2 separate regions of the Homo sapiens genome follow, and region 1 is linked to region 2. Evidence: promoter capture Hi-C in 16 types of primary human blood cells and fetal thymus (Javierre and others, 2016). All regions are on one chromosome and are shown on one strand. The core of a region is centred on a gene start or on the middle of the fragment in contact, and the rest is flanking DNA. Distances in the headings are between cores, read along the strand shown. Region 1 holds the start of ABCB10 (ATP binding cassette subfamily B member 10). Region 2 holds the start of AIDA (axin interactor, dorsalization associated).

Region 1 (2,899 bases), core at 374-2,873, 6.8 Mb before region 2:
CTCCCAAAATGTTGGGATTACAGGTGTGAGCCACCGCGCCCGGCCGCTACCTCCTTTTTGAGCCCAACTAAAGAAACATCAAGGATTGATACCCTCCCAGTTGAAGAGAAAGTGACAACTTTAACCCAAATCTCACCTTCCTCTTACTTTCTCTTTCCCATTTTCCAGCTGCCAAACTAAGGGCAGCTGCTGTCAGTTTTTGTAAATAAAGTTTCCAGGGCTGGGATTAGAGCGAGAGAAGAGAGGCAGGATTGTGAAAGGTCAGGAGTGGATACTCAATCAAAATTTTTTATATTTTGTTCATTACGGATTTTTTAAATTAATTTTGATTTTTAAAAATATTGCACTAAAATGTTTATGTTGATTATTGAGGTTTTTTTATTTTGTGAACCCATAAAATTTGCAACTGACAGTACCCTGTCCAGGTCCAGTAAAAATACCTAGGAGTCTACAAAAATCTACCCACGACTCACTGGACCTCAGGTACATATCCCCCCCCGCCCCCATGAAGTCTCCATAAAGTGTCCCAGTGAGTTTTAATGTTCTCTCCTGTCTTTCCATGCACGTGTATTAAGATGCATTGCCTTCTGATTAGTGTTTTCCACTTCGAACAGCGGGAATGCCTCGACCACGCCTGTCTTCAAATTTCTGCTCTAGTTAAGAAACGATCTCAGGCCGGGCACGGTGGCTCACGCCTGCAATCCCAGCACTTTGGGAGGCTGACGCGGGCGGATCACCTGAGGTCAGGAGTTCGAAAAGAGCCTGACCAACATGGTAAAACCCCGTCTCTACTAAAAATACAAAATCAGCCGGGTGTGGTGGCGTATGCCTGTAATCCCAGCTACTTGGGAGGCTGAGAAGGGAGAATCACTTGAACCTGGGAGGCAGAGGTTGCAGTGAGCCGAGATCGTCTCAAGAAAAAAAAAAAAAAGAAAAAAAAGAAACGATCTCTTCCCTTCTCAAAGTTATATACATTTCACTATTCGCCAACCACCTCCTCCACGCCGTCCAGAGCTGAGCTGACACGCAGCGAAGTCCTCTCAGTGGTCCCTCCGCACCTCAGCCCTGTGCTTGGCAGCGAGACGAGTGACAGGGCCGCCCCAGCATGGGTCTCCCGGGCCGCGGACCCGCCCCACGCCGTATCCAGCACGCTGTCCTCCCGCCCCATCTTTGTGCCGGCCATCGTGTGGTCGCGTCTGCGCGCTCCGCCCGGTCTGCCGGCGTGAGAAAGAGCTCGTGTCGTTCCCAAGTTCAGACCAGAGGGGACGGCGAAGCGCGAAAAAGTTCCCTGCGCCCAGTACGCAGGCGCAGCCGTGCTCCTGGGCTTCCCGGGCCTCGTCCCAGCTGGCGCGCCCGGCGCTCCTCCGCCAGCGGGCAGTTGGGGGCGCTGCAGGGAGGGCACCCGAGCGGGTTGGGGGCGCTCGGAAGGGTGGCTTGCAAGGTCCGGGTAGCTGCAGTCCCCGGAGTGGGGCGGAGAGGCGCGGCACCGCGCGGACGAGGATGGGGCGGGGGCGGGCGCAGCCCGAGGGTGCAGGCACGATAAGGCGGGTGACAGCCAGCGGGGAGGGGCGGGCGCCACCGCGTCCACGCCCTTTGCTCGGGGCCGGGCCGGGAGGGTCCTCGGGCTTTGCGCGCGCCTGGCCGGCGGGCTGAGGCGTACGGGTCGCACGCAGCGCCATGCGAGGCCCCCCTGCCTGGCCGCTGCGGCTGCTCGAGCCACCGAGCCCTGCCGAGCCAGGTCGGCTCCTGCCGGTAGCCTGCGTGTGGGCCGCGGCCAGCCGCGTTCCCGGGTCCCTATCGCCGTTCACTGGCCTGAGGCCGGCGCGGCTATGGGGCGCGGGGCCCGCGCTGCTCTGGGGCGTTGGAGCCGCGCGCCGCTGGAGGAGCGGCTGCCGGGGCGGGGGTCCGGGCGCCTCGCGGGGCGTCCTGGGCCTCGCGCGGCTCCTGGGGCTGTGGGCTCGCGGCCCCGGCAGCTGCAGGTGCGGGGCTTTTGCCGGGCCAGGCGCTCCTCGGCTCCCGCGCGCCCGGTTCCCGGGCGGTCCCGCAGCCGCTGCCTGGGCAGGGGACGAGGCCTGGCGGCGCGGGCCGGCGGCGCCTCCCGGGGACAAGGGGCGGCTGCGCCCCGCAGCGGCCGGACTCCCGGAGGCCCGGAAGCTCCTGGGGCTGGCGTACCCTGAGCGCCGGAGGCTGGCAGGTAGGGTCCTCCCCGGCCACTTCCCTCCGCCGGGCCTCTCCTTCTCCACACGCGGGGTCCCGGGGCGCCGAGAGGGACACGGCCGGGCCGCAGAGCGCGTGTCACCGCCGCCTCTCCTGGGCCACTCCTAACCCCGGAGGAGGGAGGGGATCGCTCACCTCAGAGTAGCGTTGTCAAGATTTCGCCTTAGCTGGGGACTCGTTTGCAGATTTTACACTTGTTTTCTTGTTGACACACGTTATATATGTCATTATTGGAATCTTTGGGTCTGTTCCACCACCAACTTAGTGGGAGCATCTGTTTTGGCTTAGGCAGCAAAATGAGCTGGAGGTTTTTCCTTGGAAAAAAAAATTCTAGCCAAAAATATGCCTATTTTGTTATTAGGCGTTTATACTTTTTTTTTTTAACCAAAAACACATTATTTGCTTCAAGCGAGTCTGTCAAGCAGTCACCAATGCTTTCACAGCGGAAAGCAAAACTTTCAGACTTGTCTCTTGTGCAGGAAGTTACAGCACTGTGTTCAACAGGCCACACCAGTGATCTGTTCAGTAATTGAGTAACTTTTTTAAAAGAAGCCAAAATGAATGTTTTTAGAAACAAAATTTAAATAGGACAGTTTTCTATAGCTCCTCATTTTTTAGCCATAATTGGAGGAGTGTTTAGATGCAAGGGCCTTGTAAGATCTAAAATTTTTTCGATTTCTCT
Region 2 (3,279 bases), core at 637-3,136:
AAAAAAATTAGCCGGGCATGGTGGCGGTCGCCTGTAGTCCCAGCTACTTGGGAGGCTGAGGCAGGAGAACCCAGGAGGCGGAGCTTGCAGTGAGCCGAGATGGCACCACTGCACTCCAGCCTGGGCGACAGAGGGAGACTCCGTCTCAAAAAAAAAAAAAAAAAAAAGCAGCATGTCTTGTCTAAATGTCCTTGGGTAGGTAGTGCAGCAGATAATAAGGAGAAAGCCCAGGCGAAGACCTAAACATGGCAATTAGATTCCAGGAAGTAACTGAGAAAAAATTCTGATAAGGTTCATTTAATTTGAAGGCACTAAAAAATTCTGACAATCGACTTTTCCTAGTATTAGAAAATAATGGTGGCTGTACAGTGTATGAAATGCCTACATTAAGTGCTTCCTTTATGCTATTTATTCATGACAAAGCTGGTTTTGAGGAGCACCACATACTTAATGAATAGAGAATACAGTGTGTACCCAACGAAAAACTGAGCAGGTTTATTTAGGACTCAAAACATTTAACGAGTTATTTCAGAAAATATCATCTTCTACACATCTTCCATATAAATTCCGATAGCCTAATACAGCATCTATGTGCCTACAAATAATATCACACTCAGCACTTGAGGCTGCGAAATCTTCCACAAATACTTCTTTTAATGCGGCCTCCTACTTCCTGGATGAAAATGTCTGAAGTTTTGCGAATCTTTACTTCAGGAAAGAAGAGGGTTTCTGCCCCTGCCCCATCTTCTCCCCTTCTGCGACCCGGCGGTCTTCAGTTTTCGGGAGTTCCTAGGGTGGGATAGAAGAACGACACACCCACCCGCAGGGACAAGGGTGCCTTTAGAGCCACCAATACAACATTCGGATCGAAGCTGTAAGCTAACACACTTCCACAAGAGGACTCCCGCTCCTAACAAGGGACCCCCACCCCGGAAGCCCCGAGTCCCCAGAGGAACCTACCTGAGCGCCGCCCCCGAGCTCTGAGCGCCCACTTCCTGTTTACCACCCAGCCTCTTCCTCCCGTGCCCAGTCCCGTTCGAGGCAGCGGGCGGCGACCGTGCGCACGCGCCAACACTTGAGTTCCCCTCTTTCCAAACAGGCATTTTTGTGGAAAGCCGATACTGTCAACCCGGGAGAGGTGGCCAGACAACGGCCGAACGAACCCCAGTTTAGCTTGTATTATAAGCTCTCCAATGACCAATGGAGATGCGGGGCAAGGGGATTCAGCGGATCTAGCTGTTAATGCCACTGATTTGTGGTGACCAATATGGATTTTCTTTCTGTCGTTTGTTTCAAGGCACTAGAAGGAGACTTTTGGTCCACTGTCCAGGGGTCTATGGAGACTAATGTAAAAGGGGGTGATCCTATTGCTTGAGACTCCGGGGAAGTAGCGGGGGATATTACTGAGAAACACCCATCCTCTGACATACTTACCAAATTTCTCAGAGTCGGTTCAGCAGTTCTTCTAAGGGAAGAAGGGCAATATATCGGAGTCCACAAGCGAGAAAAAGAGGGAGTCGGAGAACCGAGACTACAGAACCAGGGTGACGGAAAACCAGGACGGCGCCAAGCCGGAGTCACGTGACCCGGCGGCCATGATAGCTACCGAGGCGGTAGTGCGCGCAGCTCAGGGGCGGGTATTGCCGCGGCGTTGCAGTCCCCTCAAAACGCTTCGTTCATCATCCCTTTCTAACTTCTCCCTCGGCCTTCCTTTTGAGCTATGGTCTTTTTCCCAGACAGGAAGAGAAGAGTTGCCCCTACCTCCGGAGCCGAGGGAGAATGCCGCAATAGCGATGGCGGCCCTCGGCGCAGTGGGGCGGCCTCAACCTAACCCGGGGCGGGGCCTCGGGGGCGGGGTCTCGGCGGGGCGGTCGCTTTGGAGCCGCAAAGTTTGGCTGTGGCGGCAAATGGGCTTGGGCGGCTCCTCGGCGGGTGGCGGTGGTGGCCGTAGCGGTTCCTCCTGGCCCTGTTAATGTCGGGGCCAGGCCGGGGGAGGATGGCGCCCTAGAACCCGGCCTTGCTGGGGTAGGGGCGGGAGGGGACGGGGTGGGGACCGGCCATGTCGGAGGTGACCCGGAGTCTGCTGCAGCGCTGGGGCGCCAGTTTTAGGAGAGGCGCCGACTTCGACTCTTGGGGCCAGCTGGTGGAGGCGATAGACGAGTATCAGATGTGAGTGACTAACCGCGGGAGCAGGCCAGACCGGCTCCAGTCGTGCGCCTCTCCCTTGTTTCTGTCGGTGTCTCTCATCACCGTATCTGCAGCCAAGGCTTCTCAGGGTGGGGCTCCGCAGGCACTGGGGCTGAGATCCCTCGCCACCAGCCCCAGCGAGGCTGCTCTAGGGACAACGGCTCCGCTCTCTGGGGTGACTCGCCTTCTTCCCTCTCCGCCTCCGCAGGGACAGTTCCATTCAACAGGTAGCCCTTCTTTCCTGGGGCGCAGGCCCCAGCAGGCTATCTGCTTAGTTCCTTTCCACCGTCTCGCGGGTCCCCCACTTGGCAGTCAGTTTCCTTTCCTCCTCCTCTCCCAGGTTGCTTTTCCTCGATTTCCTTTTGAAATTCTCTGAGGAATACTTGTGTGTTCTCCGCCCACGTTCCAAGGATGAGTGGCCTTGCTCTGTGTGTGTCTTCCTTCTTCCATGCGTAGGAAAGGAGGGAACTGTTTGCGATTGAGGGGATGGGGGGGAGCCCAGGAAGCAACGAGGGCCAGGGATACCTCTTCTGCCAAAAGAAGGGTCTCCTCTCGCGCTCCTTCTCCACCCCTCTTTCTGGTGAGCCGTGTTTTCAGAATTCCACCTCGATTTCGTTTCGGTTTCTGGGACTGTTATTTGGTAGGCTGTGAGTCCCACCCACCCCCTCGCTCGGTTGCCTTGGGTGGAGTCCGCGCAGGATGTGAACCGAAGAGAGCAAAATGTGAATTAATGGACCACGCACAGGAGCTCCACGCCCTCCTTGGATCCCTCCTCCTTTTCCTGTATATAATGTATAGCCGCAGGGTACAAGTGAGTACCAGTTTCCTTGAGCAACCTAAGACCAATTTCTTGCCCTTTCTGGTTTCCACAGAAAACTTCAGGGTTGTCTTAAAAAATAAAAGACAAGATTTATATACACATAAAACCTTGCTTAGGTTTTTGCACATTTTACTGAACTTAAGAACTGTCTGCCAAAATGCTATTGTTTGCAAACTCGCCATTAATTATTCTCTGTTTAAAGCAAGTTATTGTTTGAGATTTCACTGAGTATGAAACCACGTATGAGTAGAATACCCCCGGCCTCCCCCACC

The links. The method cuts DNA at HindIII sites, captures the fragments that hold promoters and counts their contacts. A CHiCAGO score of 5 or more calls a contact.
Region 1: the fragment with the promoter of ABCB10 here is called in contact with the fragment with the promoter of AIDA in region 2 in 1 of 17 cell types (neutrophils); the score reaches 10.6 in neutrophils.

Annotation. Positions count from the first base shown.
Region 1 is chr1:229,557,431-229,560,329 of GRCh38, reverse strand. ABCB10 (ATP binding cassette subfamily B member 10) reads left to right here and starts at 1,623. Exons shown (of 13, transcript NM_012089.3): 1 at 1,623-2,194. The coding sequence starts at 1,678. RefSeq lists an enhancer at 844-1,033 and silencers at 1,204-1,903, 1,964-2,413. The HindIII fragment of the contact is 4,467 bases long and covers 1-2,899 here.
Region 2 is chr1:222,711,098-222,714,376 of GRCh38, reverse strand. AIDA (axin interactor, dorsalization associated) reads left to right here and starts at 1,886. Exons shown (of 10, transcript NM_022831.4): 1 at 1,886-2,169. The coding sequence starts at 2,060. BROX (BRO1 domain and CAAX motif containing) reads right to left here and starts at 1,813. Exons shown (of 13, transcript NM_144695.4): 1 at 1,435-1,813. RefSeq lists enhancers at 616-835, 1,204-2,118 and a silencer at 1,786-2,005. The HindIII fragment of the contact is 15,501 bases long and covers 1-3,279 here.